Linked DNA regions of Homo sapiens: all the other regions are linked to region 5. The links are contacts of gene promoters, found by promoter capture Hi-C in human tissues and cell types (Jung and others, 2019). All regions are on one chromosome and are shown on one strand. Each heading gives the region's core, a stretch centred on a gene start or on the middle of the fragment in contact. The rest is flanking DNA. Distances are from core to core; before and after follow the strand shown.

Evidence for each region. The method cuts DNA at HindIII sites, captures the fragments that hold promoters and counts their contacts. A contact is called where the count stands out against the background at its distance.
Region 1: a contact is called between a fragment that was not itself captured here and the fragment with the promoter of CABLES1 in region 5, in 1 of the 25 tissues and cell types used here (IMR-90 fibroblasts).
Region 2: a contact is called between the fragment with the promoter of ANKRD29 here and the fragment with the promoter of CABLES1 in region 5, in 1 of the 25 tissues and cell types used here (psoas muscle).
Region 3: a contact is called between a fragment that was not itself captured here and the fragment with the promoter of CABLES1 in region 5, in 1 of the 25 tissues and cell types used here (lymphoblastoid cells).
Region 4: a contact is called between a fragment that was not itself captured here and the fragment with the promoter of CABLES1 in region 5, in 1 of the 25 tissues and cell types used here (dorsolateral prefrontal cortex).

The regions. Positions count from the first base shown.
Region 1 is chr18:23,705,558-23,708,257 of GRCh38, forward strand. The region is part of intron 1 of LAMA3 (laminin subunit alpha 3); the gene reads left to right. Among named protein-coding and RNA genes, the nearest start is that of LAMA3, 17 kb to the left of the region's middle. The HindIII fragment of the contact is 4,278 bases long and covers 1-2,700 here.
Region 2 is chr18:23,661,468-23,664,167 of GRCh38, forward strand. ANKRD29 (ankyrin repeat domain 29) reads right to left here and starts at 1,444. Exons shown (of 10, transcript NM_173505.4): 1 at 1,243-1,444. The coding sequence starts at 1,263. The HindIII fragment of the contact is 14,259 bases long and covers 1-2,700 here.
Region 3 is chr18:24,013,668-24,016,367 of GRCh38, forward strand. TTC39C (tetratricopeptide repeat domain 39C) reads left to right here and starts at 1,087. Exons shown (of 14, transcript NM_001135993.2): 1 at 1,087-1,371. The coding sequence starts at 1,205. TTC39C-AS1 (TTC39C antisense RNA 1) reads right to left here and starts at 1,793. Exons shown (of 6, transcript NR_110796.1): 1 at 1,637-1,793. RefSeq lists silencers at 324-1,243, 1,324-1,503. The HindIII fragment of the contact is 6,499 bases long and covers 1-2,700 here.
Region 4 is chr18:23,827,247-23,829,946 of GRCh38, forward strand. LAMA3 (laminin subunit alpha 3) reads left to right here. Exons shown (of 75, transcript NM_198129.4): 23 at 68-221. Among named protein-coding and RNA genes, the nearest start is that of LAMA3, 140 kb to the left of the region's middle. The HindIII fragment of the contact is 6,884 bases long and covers 1-2,700 here.
Region 5 is chr18:23,134,077-23,136,776 of GRCh38, forward strand. It overlaps CABLES1 (Cdk5 and Abl enzyme substrate 1), which reads left to right and starts at 1,409. Exons shown (of 10, transcript NM_001100619.3): 1 at 1,409-2,531. The coding sequence starts at 1,687. RefSeq lists silencers at 208-297, 308-417, 1,178-1,257, 1,378-1,587, 1,718-1,927 and 2 more and an enhancer at 608-757. The HindIII fragment of the contact is 17,284 bases long and covers 1-2,700 here.

The DNA of each region.
Region 1 (2,700 bases), core at 192-2,691, 570 kb after region 5:
TCCATCACCCAGGCTGTAGTGCAGTGATGCAATCATGGCTCACTGCAGCCTCGACTTCCCAGGCTCAGGTAATCCTTCCACCTCAGCTTCCCAAGTAGCTGGGATGCATGCCACCATGCCCAGCTAATTTTTGTATTTTTTGTAGAGACGGGGTTTCACCATGTTGCCCAGGCTGGTCTTGAACTCCTGAGCTCAAGCAATCCTCCCACCTTGGCCTCCCAAAGTGCTAGGATTACAGGTGTGAGCTACTGTGCCTGGCCTATATATGTATTTTAAATAGTAATAAGCATTCATGAACTTGCTACCAAAACCAAACATAGAGCTTGGATAATAATTTATGTCTAAATGTATGGTCTGCCCACCCCCATTCCCTCTGTCTCTTACATTCTGGGGAAATAATCATCCCAAATCTTTTATTAATACTTTGCTTTTTTAGTATAGTTTTTATTACATCTGTACGTATTTCGAAAAAGTAGGTGCTTTTTATTTTGCTTGCTCATAACTTTATAAAAAGTATATCATGCTTTTTTCACTTAATATTATATTGCTGAGATTCATCAATATTGTTTCATCCATATTGTTTCATTGTATATATTCATTTACTCATTATTGCTTATATAGTTATTAATTGTGTGAATATACCACTGTTAGTTCATCCACCCTCCTGTGGCTGGGCAATTAGGTTATTCCCAGGATTTTGCTCTTATGAACAGTGCTGCTGTGAATAGTGTTGAATATAATACCATCAAATTTGTGCAAGAGTTTCTTTTTGGTTTATGAGTTTGAGAGTAGAATGCCGTATCATAGGAAATGTGAATTTCAACTTTAGGTGGTAATACTAAAACAGTTTCCAAAGTTTTTGTACCAATTTATACTCCTACTATGTCTTTTCTAACTCTGGTTATCATCAAACTTTAAACTTGGGTCTACTGAATACGTATAAAATAATATTGCATTGTGGTCTGCCTTGATCACTAATGATGGTGATGGTGAACATTTCTTGAAATGCTTATTATGTTTATTGTGTTTATATGTGTTTCCTCTTCTGTGAAATGCCTACTTTTGCCCGTTTTCCCATTGAACTATTTATATTTTTCTTATTGATTTGTAGGATTGTTAGGAATTTGGTATGTATTTCTGTTGAGAGTTCTTCGTTGATTTTAAGTTCTTTGATCAGTTATTGATTCTTGTGTAATAAACTACCCCCAAAACTTAGGGGCTTAAAACAACAACAGTTTTGGCCAGGTGCGGTGGCTCACACCTGTAATCCCAGCACTTTGGGAGGCCAAGGTGGGCGGATCACCTGAGGTCAGGAGTTCGAGACCAGCCTGACCAACATGGAGAAACCCCGTCTCTACTAAAAATACAAAATTAGCTGGACGTGGTGGCACATGCCTGTAATCCCAGCTACTCAGGAGGCTGAGGCAGGAGAATCACTTAAACCCTGGAGGCAGAGGTTGCAGTGAGCCAAGATCGCACCATTGCACTCCAGCCTGGGCAACAAGAGTGAAACTCCGTCTCAAAAAAAACAAAAACAAAAACAGTTTTTTCTCTCACAATTCTGTGGGTTGACTGGGTTCAGCTGGTTGATTCTTCTGCTCCATGGGTTGTCAGTTGGGGTAACTCACTTAGTTGCATTCAGCTGGTGGCTAGGATGGACTGGATGGCCTAAGAAGGCCTCGCTAACATACAAGGTAGCTTGGTGCTCTCCCATTTGTCCTCTCCAGTTGGCTATTTTGGACTTTCTCACAGAATGGTGATTCTGGGTGGTTGGACTTCTTGCCTGCTGGCTTCCAAGAGGAAGGAAGCAGAATCTTCTAGCCCTTTTAAGGCCTAAGCTTGAATGTCCCAGAATGACACATCTGCTATAACAAAGCAAACAATCAAGTCAGTCTGGATTCAAGAGCAGAGACTAGCCTCCAGGGCAAACAGCATCCACCTTTTGATGGGTGAAATGGCAGGCACAGAGAGAGAGAGAAGGAATTGATGGCAGTCATCATTGGAGACTATTTATCACTTTTGCATTGTAAATATCTTCTAGTTTTAACTTTTCACTTTTTAAAGGTGTCTTTGATGAAGCAAACTTCTTTATACATATTTTATTTATTTATTTATTTATTTTTCGTAGAGACAAGGTTTCACTATGTTGCTCAGGCTGTCACCAACTCCCTGGGCTCAAGGAAACAAAATTCTTTTTTTTTTTTTTTGAGACAGAGTCTTGCTCTGTCGCCCAGGATGGAGCGCAGTGGTGCAATTTCAGCTCACTGCAACCTTCACCTCCCAGGCTCAAGCAATTCCCGTGTCTCAGTTACAGGCATGTGCCACCATGCCCAGCTAAAGGAAGCAAAATTCTTAATTTTAACATAGTCAGATTTATCCATCTCTTCTTTTGTAGTCAACGCTTTTTGTATCTTTGGTTAAGAAACCTTTCCTTGCTCTCAGTTCTAAAAGGTAGACACCTTTTTTTCTACTATGAGAGTTTGAAGTTTTATTTTTCACATATAAGTCCTTACTTCATCTGAAGTTGAATTGCATTTGCGACTTGAGTAGAACTCTGATTTTATTATTTCCCCCTGGATCTAGAATATTCCTTCCTTTCCCAGCGGTCTGACATACCACCTATGTTATATACTAAAGCTTCTTAAATGCATGGGCTGCCTGTTCTGTCCGATAGGTCTGTTTGTCTCATTTTGCCTTTCC
Region 2 (2,700 bases), core at 194-2,693, 530 kb after region 5:
GGCCAAGGAGGGTGGATCACCTGAGGTCAGGAGTTCGAGACCAGCCTCGCCAACATGGCAGAACCCCGTCTCTACTAAAAATACGAAAAAATTAGCTGGGCATGGTGGCGCACGCCTGTAATCCCAGCTACTCTGGAGGGTAAGGAAGGAGAAATAGCTTGAACCCGGGAGGCGGAAGTTGCAGTGAGCTGAGATCACACCATTGCACTCCAGCCTGGGCAACAAGAGCAAAACTCCGTCTCAGGAAAAAAAACTTTAAAGTCATTCACATTCGTCTGCTTCGTTCCATTCTCACCACCTATGCACTGGTCCAGTACCATTTCTTAAAAAGATGACAACATCTTCCAGCTCCAACCCTCTTCTCCAAACCTAGCCAGAGATCTTTGCAACATGCACATCTCGCCATGTCACTCCTCTGCTTACATGAGCTATTGTCGGCAACGGGATTACAGTGGCTTAGGAGTCAGACACACTTGGGTTTCAGTCTTAACACCATAACTTATTGGCTGCAAAACCGTGGGTGAGTTAATTTCTCTATATCTTAGTTTTCTCATTTGAAAAAAAAAAAAAAAAGAGCCACGAAGAGCACCTCCCACAGGTCTCCCCCAGGGTTGAGACCATACACACCATGTCCTTGGTTCAGAGTCAGGCACATTTGAACTGTTTAATACATTTTAACTGCTATTTTTATTAAACCCTTTCAATCGAGGCAAATCAACCTCTTTCATCCTAAAATGTGGGGATTAGATGGAATGACTTTAATCAACTCTTTTGAGACAAGACACCTTTGGACCCTGAAGCCTCCCTGGGTGCTGGCCACCCCTCCGGGGAGGAGGCATCCGTGGGTGCAGCTGGTACTCCTGCATGAGGACCCAGAGGGTCAGGGTCGGGGACTCCTTCTGCTGCAGGACAGCGCTGACCCCAGGCTTCTTACCCGCCCCCGACCTGTTACCCGGCGACAGTCCCCGCCGCCCCGTCGCCGGGCACAGACTCAGCCGATCCACAGCCATGAGTGCGAAGCCTCTCAGGCAGGGCAGGCAGGCAAACCGCAAACCCACAGGGCGCACCCAGCCCCGCCGCTTCCTCCCGGGCCTCGCCCGCAGCTGGAGGAGAGAGGAAGGAGGAGGCGGCGGGCAGCGGGCAGCGCCCACCCCATCCCACCCCATCCCACCCCACCCGACCCCGCGGGCCCGGCCGCCCGAGCCCGGCCCCAGCCCTGACCCCGGAGTCCCGGTCGCTCACCTTGAAGGACATCCTGCACATGTCCGCGGCCGCCCGAGCGGGAGCCGGCGCGCTTTGGGCCCGGGGCGCCTTGTCCTCCCCGGCCCTTCACTCTCCCGGGGCTCTCGGCGTTCCGCAGAGGGGCGGCCTCCGACGCCGCGCGCTCCCGCCGCCCGGCCCGGCAGCAGCCGCCGCACACAGGGCCGGGCCGAAGGGGCGGCGCGGGGGCGCGCGCGCGCGCACACTACACATGGGGTGTCGCGTGGACGCGCTCCAGGACCTGCCACACACGCGCGTGCACAAACACCCCAAACTCCGCACGCACTGTGCACTTTCCACACACGTCCACACTTCCACACTCACTCGTCCACACACACACTCCAAACTCCACACACATTGTGCATACGCTCCACATTCCACACACACAGAGGTTCCACACACATACTTTCCACACTCACGCCCACTCACCCGCATGTACTCACACACAAACTCCATACATATCCTCCCAAATAGACTGGTCTGCCCCAGAGGACTCCCAACCTTCATTACAGCACAAATATTATAATGATGTAAAAATGAAGCTTGAGGAAAAAATTCATCCAATAGCTATTTTCGTTATAATTTCTTTCTCGGTTTCCTGGGAAACTTTTTTCTCCTGGGGAAAATATCTAGGAAACAAACCTTTTGATTGCACAAACAATAAGTGGTCTTTTCCTCTTTGAAGGGCAAAGGCCAATTTTGGAATAGACTCATACCCCTCCTCCTCCTCCGCGTTATTAATCCAGCAGTTCCCTCCTCCTCTGGGTCTGATGCTGCAGCCCTGGAGTATTGCAGTATGTGTGTCCACTCCTGCTGCCTGCCCAGGATTGGTTTGGGCGAAGTAAAACTGGGAGTTTTAAGTATAAACGGCAACAACAGCTCTTTGAGAGCATTTTAGAAAAGTGAAAGTAAAAAAGTAGCCCAGGCATAGTGGCTCACGCCTATAATCCCAACTCTTTGGGAGGCCAAAGGCGGGCAGATCACTTGAGTCCAGGAGTTCGAGATCAGACTGGCCAACATGGCAAAACTCTATCTCTACTAAAAATACAAAAATTAGCCAGGCGTGGTGGTGCGCACCTGTAGTCCCAGCTACTCGGGAGGCTGAGGTGGGAGGATCGCTTGAACCTGGGAGGTTGAGGCTGCAGTGAGCCAAGATTCGGTCACTGCACTCCAGCCTGGGCAACAGAGCAAGACTCTGCCTCAAAAATAAAAATAAAAACAAAACAAAAAAATAGTATAAAAATGGAGGTCTTACCCCCTCAAACTATAAGAATCCACTCATTCATTCTCCCCCTCCTTCCCTCTTCTCAATTAAATTTGTAACGAATATTTAATTTAAAAGGTAGAAAACAATTACAAATAAAAGTTAATGATAAAAATTAAAATGTTTAACCTTCATGGATAAATTGTATTACTTTGTGCTTAAAACAACTTTAAATT
Region 3 (2,700 bases), core at 127-2,626, 880 kb after region 5:
TGGCATTAGAGCATAATCTTGATTGCAACACTACATTAAGGGATTTTGCTAAATTAGAGAAAAATAAATTTGTGGAAAAAACATAAAGATGATTTATGAATTGCTTGTCTCTAGAATATTAGGCATCCAGATATCACCAGCCCATCATCAGAACAGTGAGACTTCTGTGATAATGGTTAAATTCAGTCACTTTTGATGTTTTGCTGACATTTGGTCATATGAACGCCAAAGCTTTGCAAGAATAATTGGCAGTGTGAGAATAGAACACACTTTGGCAGCTGAATTTATAACTTTTAAATATTTGGGCACATGGCATATAGGCCTCCATTTCTCCTCCTGCCCCACTGCGCAAATGTTGGTGGCGGGCTGGAGTGGGTGGTACCGGGATCCGAGGGGCTCTGCCTTGCAGTCCCGCAGCGCGGGGCTCCGGGGAGCTGCGGGGCAGGTGCCAGAGACCCCGCCCCCGCCGCCCACCTCCTCGGGAATTGGCTGCCCTGGTCCTAGGGGGCGGCCCCAGGGTCGGGATGAAGTCTGGGGTCGCGGGCGCGGGCTGCGTGGGGTTTCAGTTACTCGTGGAGTTTCAGTTACTCGTGGACAAAGCGCCGCGCGCTAGCATAGCGGCCCGGGCGGAGTTCCCCTTCCCTTTCCCTTTCCTTCCACATCCGCACGCTCGTTCTCCCTCCGCGCCTTGCCCTCCTCCCGACTCCTGGGTCCGGCCCCTTCGGGGGAGGGTGGGGCGCTCGGGTCTCCGGGTCTCGCGTGCGTGTGTCCGAGCAGTCCTGGGCGGTGGGCGAAGGCGCGGCTTGGGGACCCGGGAGGGGCCGGGGCGCGGGGGCTGCAGGAAGTGGAGGCGGCCGCCGCTCGGGGACCGGCTTGGCGGGGTGAGAGACACCCGGAAACGGATTCCGCTTCGGGGCCCGCGCGAGTTGGGTGCTTCGGAGGGCGCGAGAGGAGCGGGCGGGTGCTGCTGAGTAATCCCCGCGGCGGCGGCCGGACGCCCACCTCCCACGCCGCGCCGCAGCCGGGCCGCGGCTCCTCCCTCCGCGGTCCTTCCCTCCTCTTCCCTCCCGTCTTCTCCCCTCCCCTCCCCTCCCCTCCCGGCTCCGCTTGGCTCCGGGCAGGTAGAGCCGGGCTCCGGGCGCGCGCGGGGCCGCAGCAGCTGCTCCCGATCTCGCCTCGGCCCAGCGCAGGGCCTCGCACGCCCATGGCCGGCTCGGAGCAGCAGCGGCCGCGGCGGCGGGACGACGGAGACTCGGACGCGGCAGCGGCGGCGGCGGCGCCCCTGCAGGACGCGGAGCTGGCCCTGGCCGGCATCAACATGCTGCTCAACAACGGCTTCAGGGAGTCGGACCAGCTTTTCAAACAATACAGGTGACCCACGCGTCCCCGATTCCCCAACCCTGCAGCGCGCACCTCGTGTCCGGCTCACGCGCCTCGACCTGCGGCCCCCGGGAGCCCCCTCCCCCTCCTGTCGGTCACCGATTCCGGTCCTCAGGTCTCCTCCCTGGCAAGATCAGCCAGAGGGAATGCGCCTCTGCCACATCTCCTCGTCCACCCCCTACCCCCGGCTCCGTTGTCCTTTCCCTCCCGGGACCCGCCGCGCGCCCGCCCCGCGCGCCCGCAGTCCCCCTCTCACTTTCTCCCAGCCTCGCCCTCCCACAGACGTGCCCGGTGCCGGTAGGCTCCTCTCTGCAGGGCAGCTGGCTTTGGGACCGGATGAGATTTGAGGCAGCAGCGAGCCTGGGACCCGGGCTTGTCGTGACTCTGGCTCGCGTGCTGCCCCGGCAGCCTTTGTGACACGGAGCCCTCCGGCTGCCTGCTCCTCGCGCCTCGCATGGCTCTGCAACATTGTGCAATTCCAGACGCTTTTATTGTTTGAAAACAGATACGCACAATTGCTTTGCCGTGCAGGAATTTAAAAATTTCAGCTCAACTCTGCCCACTCATCTCTCTGCCTTGTCTTCTGCAAACTCAGTCCTCAAAATGAGTTCCTGATGTCTTTCAAGCAGGCGTTATTTATTAAGAATTTTTCCAACGTAAATAAAGGAAGGAAGAAAATGGAGGGATTTTTAAAAAGTATGAGAATGGTAGGAAAACACGTGTGTTCAGTTAATTTTTTATTTGTCTTTTAAAAAATAAAGCGAAAGAACTGAAACCTGGTAGTTTTCCTGTGGGAGTGGAAGGAACCTTCATTTCTTTGGGGACCTGGAGTGTTTGTTCTCGGGTTGAGGAAGCAAGTTTGTGATTTGCCGTCTGATTGTTGACGAGCCTTAAGGACGTTGATTAGCAGCTTTCCCCAACACGTTTAAGGACCACATGCTTCACGCTATGGAGACCCTGTAGTTTGGTTGGAATGAGAGGACCAATGTACAACTGTGACCGGGAGACAGAGTCTGTAAGAATGAGAATGCCTAAAGTCTCAGACCTCAGAGAATGGTGGTTTCTACCCAGCAGAGCTTCCACCTTCTTAATGGCGAAGCAAGTATCTCACAACTGTGAACTTTTCACTAAAGCCCTTTTACTTTTAAATCGGTGATTTTTTCCCCCCTTTGGTCTGAAAGTAAAAACAACTTCGCTTTACTTAGAACATTTCATTTTTAAAGCATACAGGTCTGGTTTCAAGATGGAGTTTCATCAAAGGCTGTTGATGGGGGATTTAAAAGGTTTACTTGTCACACAATTTCTCTTTTGTAGTTTTTA
Region 4 (2,700 bases), core at 72-2,571, 690 kb after region 5:
ACTTTGATATTCCGTTTGATGTTCTCAGTTGTAACTATTGATTCCATTGTTGTTGCTGTTGTTGAAGTTGCTTACTCTACCAGCATTTGCCAGTGACCAGATTCCCCTGTACCCTGGCTTGTGAGGCCAGACACTTCCTGCTTGATGGGGAGCCAAGACCCGTGGCAGTGAGGCAGCCCACACCTGCACACCCTGTCATGGTGGACCTCAGCGGGAGAGAGGTGGGCCAGCCTTTTATTTATTATCAAAGTTATTACTACCTCCCCATCTGTATCTGCTAAAAATACTTGGCCACAGTTGCTTCTCAAATTCAGGGGAACCTGGAAGAATTTCTCAGAGGTGTTTATCAACATTTGCTGAACTATCTGATTTAGGGTGGGGCTGGATGGTACGCTACATGGAGCCATGTTCAGGTTGTTCTTTGAGCACTTTCTAGACATGGCAGGGGATGTGGGCATCTATAGAATCCTTTCTTTTTGGTTATCTGGACTTAGAAGGGGGCATCCTGTTCTACATGATTCAGGGCAAGATTTCTCTTAAAAGACAGATGAGACTCAATCTAGTAAGCGTCCAGAAATGACACAGCTTACCCTAAAAGGATACCACACTCACTGACTGTTCAACCCCTTAGGCTAAGCAATTTGTAGCAGCTGAATTCCTTGAGCTCAGAATCCGGAACTTCTACATCCCCTGGCACCTACCTCATGGCTTGGAGGACAGGTTACTACAGGTCTTGGTATTACTTTTCTTCCAGGAGTTCTTCGAACTTCAGAACCAAATTTAAGATCATACTGATTTCAGATTCGAGTTAGAGCTATAGGATATCAACCATAACAATAAGAATACACAACACTTCAAAATGAAGACACTGAAAGACTTCCTCCACTATATTTTTATTCTTTGCTCTCTGTAACATTCTCTGTTTTGTCCTTTTGAGGAAAATATTCATTTGGGGGATTAAATTTGTGGGATGAAAATATATGTGGAGTTAATTGTAACTGAACTTTTAGATGTGTACATTTTTGTAAACTACATTTCTAACATTTTGAAGGTAGCAGTTAAAGGTTTTTAAGTATATTTCTTAAGTAAAGTCTTCATTTTATTTGAATTTTCATGCTACGAAATAATATTTACTTGTAACAAGTAAAACAATATAGATATGCATAAAAAACCTAAATGATCTTCCCTCTACTTCATTCTAATACTAAGTTTGCTGTATCCCTCCCTACACATGCTATGTGTGTATACACACATACACACATACATGTATATAGGTGTACATACATACATATATACATAAAATGCACATACACGTACATATACAGGTATATGTATGTGTGTGTGTATTTGTGTGTGTGTGTTCCCTAGACAACAAGAGGTACCGTTGAGAAGGGGCAACCACCAGGAAGTGATGCTGATGACTCATCTAGGAGGTTCTAACCTCTGATTTAACCCAGAGCTATAGCACAGAGCTAGTCAGCAGGACCTCAAGGCTCTTTTACAATACGGAAATATTTTATTTCACTATCTCTGGTCTAGAAATTATCCAGCTTATTGATTCAGTTTAATTTATACTTTTAAAACTTTTCAATTGGCTCTTTATCATATTTATTTTTTCTTGTCTTTTCTGCCAGTTTTTGTTTCAAAACTTCATGTACTTTTAAGTGGAAGTTACTTCTTCATTTAGCTTTTTTAGTATCCTAAAGGCCTTGGAGCCAGGTGTATTTCAGAATTCAAAATTTTTAAGATTTGAAAAAAGATAACATCTCCAGTGAGGTCTGGGATAATACCCTATAATCAAACAGGTTAATATTTCTCCAGTGAAAAGCATGAATAGGCACACCTAGGGAGACACTAACTGACTATATACATAGACTTATATCAGTTTAGTTCAGACTTTGCCAGCAAATGATTATTGGTTAGGTTAGGTTTGCCACCAAAACAGTTACAAAACCTATTTCCTTTTCAGAGTTTGGGGATTTCAGATCATGGGCCAGTATATTTAAAGTCTTTCTCAGACTATTCCATAAAATTCACCTCATCTGAAGTGAACTCATCTCTGATTATTTTGTTACCTGTCTTTCTTAATATTCAATTTATGTGTTTTGAATTTTGTTTACAGGCATATTGGCTTATTTTGAATGAGAGGTTTTTATCCTCTCCTTCTTTCGCATCTGTTTCAGCCTGCTAATTTTGCATTGTCTTAGCTGTCCACTGGATCCTTAGCCCAGGAGCAGGCATTACAGTGTGCCTTCTCTATTGTTATGACACTGAAGATAGGAGATTCAGACATTGACCCCATGAATGGCATAGCTCAGTTCTTGGTCATGAGGCCACATATTTGATTTTTGGTTCCCAAATTCCATAGCTTCTTTTAAAAATTTATTTAGTTTTATATATTTAGGGGTACAAGTACAAGTTTCTTATATGCATATATAACATAGTGGTGAAGTCTGGGCTTCTAGTGTACCCATCACCCAAATAGTGAACATTGTACCTAATAGGTACTTTTTCAACACCCCCTCCCATCCCTCCACTTTTCATAGTCTCCAGTGTCTGTTATTACACTCTGTATGTCCATATGTACCCATTGCTTAGCTACCATTTATAAGTGAGAACATGCAGTATTTGACCTTCACACAGCTTCTTATAAATCCATAACCCAGGAGGCAGATTGGAAGCAATTTTTAGCTTCTTTTT
Region 5 (2,700 bases), core at 159-2,658:
CAAATGTAACCTGAAACCCTCTCTGTCTGGCACTCCGGGTTGGCGGCACCTCTCTGGACGGTGTATTTGCTCTCCATTACTCAATTTACTTTCCTGAACTTGAAATGGAGTGGAATTTCAATGTAGAGTTACCCATTAGCTCCAGGGCTAAATTTAAACCTTTAATTAAATTAATCCGTTGATCTGAAACACATTGCTTCTCCCTCAAAAGTGCAGCAGGTTTCTTAGGTGTCACAGAGCTTAATTCAGTGTGGCAATTGTTCCTTACTGCATTTGTTAAGTTGCCCATACCGCCTGGGGAAACCCGCACACGTTTTCAGATCCCTCCAGGTGAACTCCTCCACCCTGTCCCCGCCCCCGCCCCCACCCCCAACCAAAACAAGCATTCGTTGTGGGTGGGGACTGCGACTCCTCCCAGATTCAGAGCTACTGCTCTGGGAGGGCCGTCAGGAACCCGTATTTATAGAAGACATGGTAGGTGCCAAACGTGCTTATGAGATAAACGACAGGGTAACTGTCCACATTGGTCCCAGTTTATGAGGGAGAAGAGATCATAATCTACAAAAATTTGCAAGGTGACCAGGGGAAAAGAGTGTAAGGTCATTTTAGCCCACCTGGGTCTTCACAGAAAATGGAGCACATTTCAGAGCCAAAGTAAAAAATTTGCGTTGTCCTTTGCTAAGAGAGAGATGAAAAGTGACAATACCATGGATTGGGGATGCGTGAGTTCGTTGGCCACATGTAAGATGTTCGTGCTTCTGGGCTCTTATGCATCCCAAGGCGTGCATTTATCCCGGGGGCTGCATCCTTGGCCTGGGAATGAATAGACCCAACTGCAATGGTTGTTAGCGATAGCTTTACGGTGGGACAGTCTCCATAGGGGCTGTGGACTTACCCGTGTTATTATGAAAAGGATCTATTTACTTCTCGGGGACCAACGGCCTTGCGGGGTCCAAGTAACTCGCTCGCAGTCCAAAACTCTGCAACGCTCCACATAACCGTCCTGTAGACCCACAACTCTCCCAGGAGCACAGCCCCAGGACCTAACCCACCGGGTTCTGCTCGCTCACCCAATTCCCAGTGCGAGCGCGCGGGGGAAACGTGCTCGCCTCCCGCACCTGGCTTCCGCGGCCCCGGGAGTCGCCAACTCTCCCAGCAGGCAGCTCCGACAACCCGGACAGCCGGGCCGATCCCCCGCCCCACCACCCGCTCGGCTCTCGCGTCCTCCTCTTCCTCCTCCCGTGGCCCCTTGCCTCCCGCCGTCTGCCTCTGCGGCCGCCGCCTGCGGCTTTGTTTTCCTCCCAGGTCGCATTCCCCACACGTGATTCCGTGTTATTGCAAAGAGGGCTTTGGAGCGCGAGCGCGGGGCGCGCGCACCTATAAATACGGACACCCGGCCCCGGAGCCCGCGAGCCAGCGGCCAGGCGACCGGCGGGCGGCCAGCCAGCGAGCCGAACTAGCCGAGCTAGGTAGCGAGGCGTGCGCGTGGGCCGGGGCGGCGGCGCCCCCATCCCCAGCACCGAGGGGCGAGCATGGCCCGCCCGCGGGGGGGCTGGACCGCCGCGCACGCCGCCCGATCCCCGCGCCCTACCCAGCCCGGGTCGCCGCCGCTCGCGCCCGCCGCTTAGCGCTCGGGCGCCGCTCGCTTCTCCGGGCATCGCGGAAATCCCGCCGCAGACGGACACAATGGCGGCGGCGGCGGCGGCCGCCACCACGGCCGCCTGCAGCAGCGGCAGCGCCGGCACCGACGCCGCGGGCGCCAGCGGATTGCAGCAGCCGCCGCCGCAGCCCCAGCCTCAGCCCGCGGCCGCCGCGCCGGCCCAGCCGCCGCCCGAACCCCCCCGGAAGCCGCGCATGGACCCGCGGCGCCGCCAGGCTGCCCTCTCCTTCCTCACCAACATCTCGCTGGACGGCCGGCTGCCGCCGCAGGACGCGGAGTGGGGCGGTGGCGAGGAGGGCGGCGCGGCCAAGCCGGGCGCCGGCGGCGCCTGCGGCGCGAGGACTCGGTTCAGCTTGCTCGCCGCTGCCGAGCGGGGCGGCTGCATCGCGCTCGCCGCGCCGGGCACGCCGGCTGCGGGGTTAGCCGCTGGGTCCGGCCCCTGCCTCCCACAGCCCTCGTCGCTGCCGCCCTTGATTCCTGGCGGCCATGCGACCGTGTCCGGCCCCGGGGTGGCGCGGGGGTTCGCGAGTCCCCTGGGCGCCGGCCGGGCGTCGGGGGAGCAGTGGCAGCCGCCCCGGCCGGCGCCTCTCGCCGCCTGTGCCCAACTGCAGCTGCTCGACGGGTCCGGGGCCGCCGGGCAGGAGGAGTTGGAGGAGGACGATGCCTTTATCAGCGTGCAGGTGCCGGCGGCCGCCTTTTTGGGCTCCGGGACCCCCGGGAGTGGGAGCGGCAGTCGGGGACGCCTCAACTCGTTCACTCAGGGAATCCTGCCCATCGCCTTCTCCAGGCCGACTTCGCAGAACTACTGCTCCCTGGAGCAGCCAGGCCAGGGCGGCAGCACCAGCGCCTTCGAGCAGCTGCAGAGGTCCCGGTGAGTATCCGGGATGCGACGCGCACCCAACCCTGCGTCCCGCCCGGCGCTCCCAGCCTCCCCGCGGTCTCTGGGCTACGGGACACGGGTTGCTCCCATTTTCCCGCGCCCTGCCGGATCCTGTGCTCCGGGCCCGAATCCCAAACCACGAGGGCACCCAAAAGAGGGG